Regions from separate parts of the Homo sapiens genome. Here region 1 is linked to region 2. Evidence: promoter capture Hi-C in human tissues and cell types (Jung and others, 2019). All regions are on one chromosome and are shown on one strand. Each heading gives the region's core, a stretch centred on a gene start or on the middle of the fragment in contact. The rest is flanking DNA. Distances are from core to core; before and after follow the strand shown. Region 1 has its middle 65 kb from the start of ZNF469. Region 2 holds the start of BANP (BTG3 associated nuclear protein).

Region 1 (4,827 bases), core at 835-3,334, 370 kb before region 2:
AGGTCAGGAGTTCAAGTCCAGCCTGGCCAACGTAGTAAAACCCAGTCTCTACTAAAAATACAAAAACTAGCCAGATATGGTGGTGGGCGCCTGTAATCCGGGCTACTCTGGAGGCTGAGGCAGAAGAATTGCTTGAACCTGTGAGGCAGAGGTTGCAGTGAGCTCACATCATGCCATTGCACTCCAGCCTGGGCGACAGAGCAAGATTCTGTCTCCGAGAAAAAAGAAAAAAGAATAAAGAATCTCGTGGTCAGCCTTTAAGAAATGCTGATGAAGACGCAAGGCCTCACTGTTAACAATAATTATTACCATTAGAGTAAACGCAGGCTTCCCATCATGAGGGCAGTGTAATCAGCAGGAACATTCTGAAGATGACATTTAAAACCCCGAGTCTCCCTAGGATTATATAAATTGGGTGGAATTATCACTTAGTAAACACGTGCAAGGCACTCAGCCTGTTTAACTTCTGCCACGGCAAGCAGCTTCCCCCGTGCTCTGTAAATGTCCCACCTGCTTTTGAATGGCTGCATAATGCTCCATGAGTGGAGGCCTGGCCATGCTTTGAATTATCCCCCGCTGTTGGACATTTGGGGGGTGCCTGTTATCATGGCCTGTGTGGCGAGGAGTCAGGCTTCAGGCCGGGGAGATGCCAGATGGGAGGAAACCCTCACTGACCCCACATGAGGGTCAGGAGCCCACCATTCTGGCTTTGGAGACTGGAGAAAACCTTTCCTTGGAAGATAGGGGCCTGAGGCCCAGCTCCTCACCCAGCAGCTTGGTCTCCACCAGAGTCAGGGTCCCACCTGTAGGGCAGGGGAGTCCTCTAGCTGCGAAGCTGGGCTGCAGGGAGGCCTGGGGGCCGGCTCCTGACCACTCAGCGTGTCCTGTTATTCTCCCTGCAGCATCCACAAACCCAAGGCGTCGAGTTTGCACGACCCACAGACGGGGCTTCCTAGGGAGGGCTGGAAATGGTGGATGGGGAGGAGAAGGGTGGCAGGGAGCCAAGGGGGCTACCTGAGGCCCTAGGAGGGCAGCCTGGGGAGTGGCCCCGCTGCTTCCCCTCTGAGAGGCGCTGCACATGGAAAAGGGATCATTGGCAGGACCCGGGCGCATCAGCAGGGCCTGTGCTCACTCTGTTCAGGAGGGCCCCCACCTTCCGAGGCCTCGGACTGCCTCCTCCTCCCTGGGGGAGCAGCCCCCTCCTCCCGGGGCCCAATCCTTGCACCTCCTGTGTGGCTCCGCCCAAGAAAGTCTCCTGGCCCTGCAGACGAGGAGCCCCCTTCGGCTCAGTCAGGGGCCTGAGTGCATTTGTTTAGGCGACACTGGTGAGGAAGAACCTCAGAAAGGCAGGTGTCCAGGTCTCGGCCACCTGCAAGGCCCCCTCGGAGGTGAGGCCAAGGGGGACAGTGTGGGCAGCCAGACACCCAGACCCTCTTCCATCTGTCTGTGAGGAGCCCGAACCCCAAATCCAGAATCCGCAGGACAGTGGCCGGTCATGGGAAGGCATGCATCGGAAGCCTGAGGCAGAGTCCCATCCTGCCCCAGCCTGGTGGCCAAGGCCCTCTTGACCCCAGCTGGCAATACAAAATGACCTGCTAGGAAAGCCCTGGGGTGCCCCGTCTGGTCCTGACCCCCAGGTAATGAGACTTTTGGGCTCCCAAACAAAAGCAAGTTTATCTCTGGGTGTCATACAGCTGACATCTGAAGATGCTGCTGCCCTGGTGAGGACGGTCACCACGTGAGGGCCAAGCTGTTTGCATGATGGCCGTCTGGACGCTGGGGCTTCTCCCCCTTGCACGCGCTGTTCGGGATTTGGCAGTGGTCCTTCTGCACAGACTCCCTCCCTCGCATGCTTTCCAAGGGAGCATCCCCTCCTCCGAGCTCCAAGATCTCAGACTCCTCCCTTGGCAGAGCAGCCAGCCGTGGCTGAGCTCTGTCCTCTCCCCACGGCACAGGCCAGGGAGGGAGGCAGCCCAGGTGTGGGACACGCCAGGAGTTCTTACTTCATGAGCAACAGAACCCAGAAAATGGTCCCCTTCTTGATCCCCCACCCCACTCCTGCCCTTGGCAGGCAGGGGCCACCGCGTCTCCCTGACTTGCTAAAGGGCTGGGGGGAGAATTGCCTGATCCTGAGATGCAGCTGGGGCAGAGGACACCGCCAGCTCCTCCCCTGATCCTGAGATGCAGCTGGGGCAGAGGACACCGCTGGCTCTTCCCCGCTTACCGAATGGGCACAGAGCATGGAGAGGAGGAAGGGGGGGCAGCGTCTCCAGGAGGAGGCTGGGCTGGAGGGGGCCAGGCTAAAAAGGGCAGCCCCTGCCGAATGTAACAGACCCGGGCCCACTGGGGGCTTTGCAGTTGGTATACCCACAGCCACAGCCGCAGCTCCATGGAACGCGCCCTGGAGAACCAGCGGCCTCCCTCCAGCCCAGGCTGGGCCCGAAGATCTGGGAGAGAAGGGCTGAGAGGGTGGAGCTGCCACCGGCTGTCCAAACCTGAGAGGCCCAAGCCACGGGCAGGGATCGCAGGTCCCTCTCCTCATGGGGACAGTGGCAGATTCTGTGGCAATAAAAGTAACTTGTCATTAAAGGACAGCAGAGGACAGGGCTGGGGCCAGGAGGAGGAAGCAGGAGGAAAGGCCATGCTCTGAGTGCCAAGGCACGGGGACCTCACCCCACCATCACCCTCAAGACCTAGGTTCACCCCTGTCCCAGGGAGAAAGATGACACCGAGCTCTGAGACAGGCCCGGTTCAGCGGCGCAGAGAGCAGGAGGAAGTATGGTGAATCCTTAAACAGAACCAGATGGGATTTGGGAGATAAAGAGGGAATTTCTGGAAGGTTCCTGTAAGTTCCTGGGGACTCAAGTCACGGTCAAGGGAAAGGCGTCTGGGAAGCTGCACATGGACTTCCTGTGGTTGAGAGGACAGTTGTGGCTGGAAGCCAGAGTGAGGAAAGAGAAGGCCTCTGCACCGGCCAGAGAGCTGTGCAGGGCGGCTGCCGGCGGGCACTGCCCCTCAACCCCAACACCCAAGCCTCAGCACGATGGAGACTACATCTGCACCAGGTCGGGAGAATGCCAGGAGAGACCCCTCCCAGGGAAGGGTCTCCTGGACCACAGGCCCGTGGCCCTACCTCTGTTTTCAGAGGATGCGAAACTCTTCCAACCTTCACCAGCCAGGTTCCGAGGCTCCACCCTGCCCCTGGCCAGCGTGCAAAGGTGAAAATGCACAGGGTCCCCCTAGGACCACGTTTCACCCGCAGAAGAATGGAACAGGTGAGGTGCTGTGAGCATCTGCCCTGGGGAGAAGGCAGAAGGAGGCTCCACGGAGAAGAGGGTGTCTGAAGTAGGCTTTGGCATGTGAGTCGGTGTTCATCACGCTGGAGAGGCAGTTGGGAACTGCTTCGGCTCCCCACCCTGCCTGACAGCTGAGGGCCAGGCCAGCATGTGGGGAAAGGGCTTCAGCCCTGAGATCAGTTGGATTCCATCAAACTGGGGTGGGGGCTGCCCATGTGGCGCTCTCCTCAAGCCTCTGGCCGGCCGGCCCCTCTCTCTGCCAGAGCCCCACCATCTACAGTTTATTATCTGGGTGGAGCATTGCCCCTTCCAGCTGGGTTGGGAGGGAGAATGCCGAGGTCAGGTGTTCTGGGTTTAGAGCTGGAGAGCGCGTGGGATCTGGAGTTTTCTGTGGGGGTGCATCCTTCTCAAGGAGGACCCCAGCTTCGATAGGTTCCCAGCATGCTGGGCAATGCGGCACTGAGACAGCACCCAGGCTGGGTGCAGTGGCTCACGCCTGTAATCCCAGCACTTTGGGAGGCTGAGGCGGGTGGATCACTTGAGGTCAGGAGTTTGAAACCAGCCTGGCCAACGTGGTGAAACCCTGTCTGTACTAAAAACACAAAAATTAGCTGGGCGTGGTGGCGGGCGCCTGTAATCCCAGCCACTCGGGAGGCTGAGGCAGGAGAATCGCTTGAACCCCAGAGGTGGAGGTTGCAGTGAGCCAAGATCGTGTCACTGCACTCCAGCCTGAGCGACAGAACGAGACTCTGTCTCAAAAAAAAAAAAAAAAAAAGACAGCACCTATACTCAGTGCTCACCAGCCAAGCTGACGCACACTGGCTGAGCAGCAGGGAGCCCAGGCCCACCGTCGGGGTGTCTGCATGTCAGATCACATCACCCTCATGAAAACCCCGGAAGGAGTGTTACTCCCAGGGCAGAGAAGTGGGAAGAGCCGTGCCAAGGTGAGCTGGATGCAAGGCTGGCGTCTGGCCCCACGAGCGTGGTGCACCATCCCATCCTAAAGGTGGCAGATGCTGGCGGGCAGACCAGGGCTGGCAGCTGCGATCACACTCGCCCAAGGTATAAAAGGTACGTCCAGATTCCTGGACCCAGCCCTGCGGGTTCTGACTTAGGACTGTTCAAAACGTATGAAAACTGCCCCGGAGATTCCGGTGAGGAGGACGGACCTGGGGGAAGCTGCTCCTGCCTTTCAGACTGGCGAGTAGTGAGGGGCGGCCGGCCCTGCTCTCTGCCCACCCGGGGCTGTGGTGGCAGCATGTGCCCTGGTGACGCGTGGTCCAGGTGCCGCCCTACAGAGCTGCAGGTGCATGGCCGTGATCACAGCCTTTCCTCAGTGGTGCAGGCGCCGGGGGTGGGGTCAGGGCCTTGTGCACTTCCAGGTTTCCTCTGGAACGTCCGGAGCAGGCAGCCTGGGCGGGCGAGGCCCTGTGTGTGACTCAGCAGGAGGGGGAGGGCCTGGAGGACCAGCTGCTCTTCCTGCCGCTGCTCCGTGTCTCCCACCCCCTTGGCCTCCAAGGACCCCAGCCCA
Region 2 (5,239 bases), core at 1,376-3,875:
AGAGCTGAAGGACAAAGCACCAGAGTCAGAGTCCCCGGCGTAGGAATCCACACACCTCAGCACACACAAGGGTAAAACATCATTAACACCAAAGAGAAGATCCAAGAGCGTTCAGGGAGGGAGAGGGGTCTCCACAAGGAGGAAGAGCACTTGCCAGAGGTTCCTGTGGAAACGAACAGAGCCAAGATGAAAACATTCCTGAACATACCCAGCTACAGAAGAAAGGAAAATATCAGGCTGGCTCGTGTGCAAGCTAACCCATCCAGATGAGAAGGACAGGGGCTGAAGGAGAAAGGGGACCTGACACTATCCTTGAGAATTTAAAACAATGTAAGGAGTCGATGGGAACAGAAAGTGCCAAGAGAAAAGCCATGACTAACAGAAAAATCCACGCTGTACAGGAAGGGAAACACTCAATTTGTCCGTGAAGAGAACAGTATTTGCATAGGCCTAACACAGACAGTCCAGGGGATAGAAGAGTTGGGATATGACAGAAGGGCTCCATCACCCCATCGTAATAGAAAGACAAGGCTGTGTAATACAAAATATCAGCTTAGAGCTAGGTGCAGTCACTCACACCTGTATTAGCGGCTACTAAGGAGGCTGAGGATCACTTGAGCTCAGGAGTTCGAGTACGGCCTGGGCAACATCAGGGGATCCTATCTCAAGAAAAAAATAAAAAGGATCAGCTTACTCAGAGCTGTGGAGAATGACCTAAAGAAACCACTCAAGATGTAAACCTCTTTGAAGAACGGGGCTGAGAGGTGGGGCAGGGGACCATTGCTTTTCATTGTAAGTCTTTCATTGACGTTCCTATTGTATACATTATATTGATTAAAATACTAAATATATGGGCTTTTTTTTTTAAGAACATAGGCTTCAGACAGACTGAATTCGAACCCTGGCTCTGTAAATCTGAGCAAGTCCCTTAGTGTCTGCGGGCCTAGTCACCTCATCTATAAAGTGGACGCAGCCTCTGCCTCCTGGGTCATGATGAAGCACCCGAGATGTTGAGCTGCCCCCACGCAGCGTGGAATCACAAATGGAAGCTCTTTTTTAAAAAGATTAAAGCCCCAGGCTGGACAACAAGGCGAAACCCCCTCTCTACGAAAAATACAAAAATTAGCCGGGGTGGTGGCGTCTGTGGTCCGAGCTACTCAGGAGGCTGCGGTGGGAGGATCACTTGAGCCAGGGAGGCCGAGGCTGCAGTGAGCCAAGATCACGATACTGCATTCCAGTCTCGGGGACCGAGTGAAACCCTATCTCCAAAAAAATAAAAATATTAACGCCAATGATGACAGAATCCAACATCGCAAGAATATATTCTTATTTTAATCGCCAGACACGGGAAGTGGACCCACATACAGAATTTTACCGCGTTTTGGTGTTTTCTTCTAGCACTGGATATCTGCGAGCTGCGTGTTAAATGACCAGATCCAGTTTTTATTTGACGTTTCCTGAGCTTACTCAGAACCACTCACTACTCCAAGTTATTTTTCTGTCCCCTAAGAACTTCCAGCTAAAAGTGAACCCTACAACTGCCTCCTCTTATCAATTATTTACTGTAGTGCGAGTTCCAGCATCGCCATCAGGCCCTGGAGTACATTCCTGGGCAGAACAGGCAACTCCAAACAGGGCAATTACCTGTTCCACATCAACAACTGTGTGACCCGGGCCCTCCCCGGTCAGGGTGCAAGCTCGCTACCCTTCAAAGCCCACACTCGCTCCACTTGCTCACAGTTCTTCAGGGATGATGTATTTCTCCAATAGCAAGACAACCCCTACCATCTCATCAGTGAAAAACATCAGTCCTCTATCAAGGCAATCTCTCCAATTTGCTCACACAGTGTGGATGGAATGTCATCTACTTTCTGCATCCTAGGGGGGAAAAAGAAAACGGCCACCTTCCTTAAGGACTAGATCACAGAAATCGCACAAACGTGCTGGGGAGGGGGCACCCCGAGGTCCTCGTTCATCGGGGCCCCTCGGGGGACGGGCTGGGGTCGTCGCCGAGGTCTGCGGTCCCCGAGAGCGCCCCTTGCGTGTGCAAGTCCTGGGCTATGGGGCTCCGGTCCACAGCCACGGAGGAGGCACAAAAACGATGCCTGTCGCTCCCGCCTGGCTGGCAGGAGCGACCCCCTTGGGAGACTTCGGGCCCCAGAGGAGCCCGGGCGCGGTTCTAGGCCTTTCCAGTCTCCCCGCCGTGGCTCCGGGTCCTTCCCGCGGGGCGAGGCCCGGGACAGAGGTCGGGAGCGCGAGGCCCCCGGGCCGGGCTGCGGCAGCCGCGGCTCAACGGACGCCGGGCGCGGTGGGGCCGGGGGTGCGGAAGCGAGGAAGCGGGAGCCCCTCTTCCGGGGCGCGGCCGGGGACGGGGAGCGGGGCCCGGGGGGCGATCGCCCGGCCCGGGCGGTTGGCGGCGGCGGGGCTGCGGCGCGGGCGGCCCGGCGGGCGGGAGGAGGAGGGAGGAGGGAGATCTCGCTCTCGCTCTCGCCCCGCGGGAAGGGGGAGGCGGAGGCGCGACCGGCTGCGGGAGCTGCAATTACCGTGTGGGCTGCGGAATTCTCGTGGTGTTTGTCGGGGAGATGCGATAATGGCGTCCGTCCTCGCGAGAGAAGCCGCCGCTCTGCGCAGGCGCCGCGAGCCCCTCCCCGCGACGCTCGGCCCCCGCCCTCCGCGCAGGCTCACTGGGCGCGCGGGCCCGGGGGCGGGGCACCCCTGTGGCAGTGAGGCCAGCTGCGCGCGCTTTTCCCGCTCGGCCTCCTGGTGAGCATGCGCAGGCGGCCTTCTTCCGCGACGGTACCGGCTTCCCAGGGCTTTTTTCCCCCCGTTTTTCGCCCACGCCCATGGCCTGCGTGAGAACAATCACCTCAGTGGACGGTCTGAGGAATTTGCATCTTCTTTGAGACGGAATGAATACGCATTAGCTCCCTCAACTACTACACCTCCCAGGGTGCCCTGCGCAAGCTGGGAGCCATGCATTCGGGGACTCGTAGTCCCTGCGTCTGGGCCATGCCTGCCGGGACTTGTAGTCTCTCCGGACTCCGGTGGCCCGTCCTGTCCCCGCACCAAGGGTTGCTGGGACTTGTAGTTACGATGTCTCAGGTGGGCTGTGCGCCCCCAGCGGGTCCTACCTGCTGCTGCGGCGGGTCCTGCCCTGAGGTTCCGGAGCGCTTGGTGGCGTTTTCCCTGACATAAGTGGTCAGGGGTCCCCAGTGTCTATCCAGAGGGGCCTGAGTGCACGCGCGCGGGACTTAGCACACGCGGCAGTGATTATGGTCTTAGATAAGTCCTATAGGTAACACATAATATAAATAAGTGATGGCGGCCGGGCACGGTGGATCACGCCTGTAATCTCAGCCCTGTGGGAGGCCAAGGCGGGCGGAACACCTGAGGTAAAGGGTTCGCGACCAGCCTGGCCAACATGGCGAAACCCTGTCTCTACTAAAAATACAAAATTATGCCGGGCGTGGTGGCGGGCGCCTTGTAATCCCAACTACTCGGGAGGCTGAGGCAGGAGAATCGCTTGAGCCCGCGAGTCAGAGGTTGCAGTGAGCCGAGATCGCGCCACTGCACTCCAGCCTGGCGACAGAGCGAGACTCTGTCTCAAAAAAAAAAAAAGTGATGACGTGAATGTGCACACGTAGAATAAATGTGCAAATGTGCGTTTGTGGGTAATCACAGGAAAAAATTCCCAAACCATAGCGCAGTTCCCAGAAATGTCATTCCTGGTTATCTCCCTCTGCTAATCTAGGATTACCTTGCCTTTCATTTTCTTCTTTATACTCGCCTCTGTTTCCTCAATTATTTGCAATGAGCAAGAATGCCTTTGAGCTCCCAAACACAGGGCGAGGCAGCTATTTTCACTGGGAAAAAGAAAATGCTGGCCGGGCGCGGCGGCTCACGCCTGTAATCCCAGCACTTTGGGAGGCCGAGGCGGGTGGATCACGAGGTCAGGAGATCGAGACCATCCTGGCTAACACGGTGAAACCCCGTCTCTACTAAAAATACAAAAAATTAGCCCGGCGCGGTGGCAGGCGCCTGTAGTCCCAGCTACTCGGGAGGCTGAGGCGGGAGAATGGCGTGAACCCGGGAGGCGGAGCTTGCAGTGAGCCGAGATGGCGCCACTGGACTCCAGCCTGGGCAGCAGAACGAGACTCCGTCTCAAGAAAAAAAAAAAAAAAAAGAAAGAAAGAAAAACAAAATGCTTTACCTTGAATTTCCTGCCCAACTCCCTTTTGCCAATAATAAAAACAGGATTCAGCGCAGTCATGGGCTATGCGACCTTGGGCAACCTTACCGAGTTAAAGTCTCCTCCAGAATTAGGCTTGGAGGTTCCACTGAGGCTGGTGGCTGGGTTACTTCGTGGCAAAAGTGCCTTACAAACACTCCAAGGAGGAGCCTTGGCAAAATGGCAGCGCTGGGACAGGTGTTGATCTGAAGATGGGACTTGTCCTTTTTCAACATGAAGATCAGCTCCAAAGAGATTAGAAAAATTGTCCAGCGAGGCCACAGGGCTGGAGAGAGGCACAAGCTGAGTTTGCAGTCCAGAGCGCCTTGCTTAGAGTGTGGAGTCCACTCACATGGAGGGAAAGGGTGCGTGCGATAGCTGACACAGAATATTCCCTCCGGCAGTGGGGACAAAACATGTTCTAGGGACGCACGCCTTTTGTCTCCACCTCCACCTCAATCACGGCTGCATTCAAATATTAATACTTGCCCATGTAAGAATTCTTAGCATCCACGCCGGAATATCTGGCTTGAAAACACAAACCTAGGGTGATGTCGTTCCTGTTGTTTCAAAACATTCCCAAGTCCGTGTCTGGAGCTGCACTTCCCCTATCCCCAGGCCTTGTGCAATGCTGGGCTCGGCGTCATGAACAGGTGTGAGTGGACAAGAGGAGGAACTTGTGGGCAAAGGTGAATCCATCTGTGACCATCCAACAAGCTACAGTGAGGTTTGTTGAAGGCCACTGCTGACTAGGCATTATCAGAAATTAAGCCAATCAAAACTATGATTGTGCTGCAGTTAGTGATTGTTTTGTTTTGTTTTGTTTTGTTTTGTTTTGTTTTGTTTTGTTTTGTTTGCATCAGGGTCTTGCTCTGCCATCCAGGCTGGAGTGCGATGGTACAATCAGAGCTCACTGCAGCCTCTACCTCTCGGGCTTAAGTGATCTTCTCGCTTGAGCCTCCAGAGTAGCTGGGACTGCAGGCATGCACCACCACCATTGCCTGATTTTTT

What was found. The method cuts DNA at HindIII sites, captures the fragments that hold promoters and counts their contacts. A contact is called where the count stands out against the background at its distance.
Region 1: a fragment that was not itself captured here is called in contact with the fragment with the promoter of BANP in region 2 in 1 of the 25 tissues and cell types used here (lymphoblastoid cells).

The regions. Positions count from the first base shown.
Region 1 is chr16:88,315,790-88,320,616 of GRCh38, reverse strand. It overlaps a transcript of ZNF469 not described here. Among named protein-coding and RNA genes, the nearest start is that of ZNF469, 65 kb to the left of the region's middle. RefSeq lists an enhancer at 4,540-4,827. The HindIII fragment of the contact is 9,018 bases long and covers 1-4,827 here.
Region 2 is chr16:87,948,820-87,954,058 of GRCh38, reverse strand. BANP (BTG3 associated nuclear protein) reads right to left here and starts at 2,625. Exons shown (of 14, transcript NM_001386991.1): 1 at 2,544-2,625. RefSeq lists silencers at 2,130-2,229, 2,250-2,309, 2,340-2,459, 2,470-2,769 and enhancers at 2,058-2,700, 2,960-3,269. The HindIII fragment of the contact is 14,887 bases long and covers 1-5,239 here.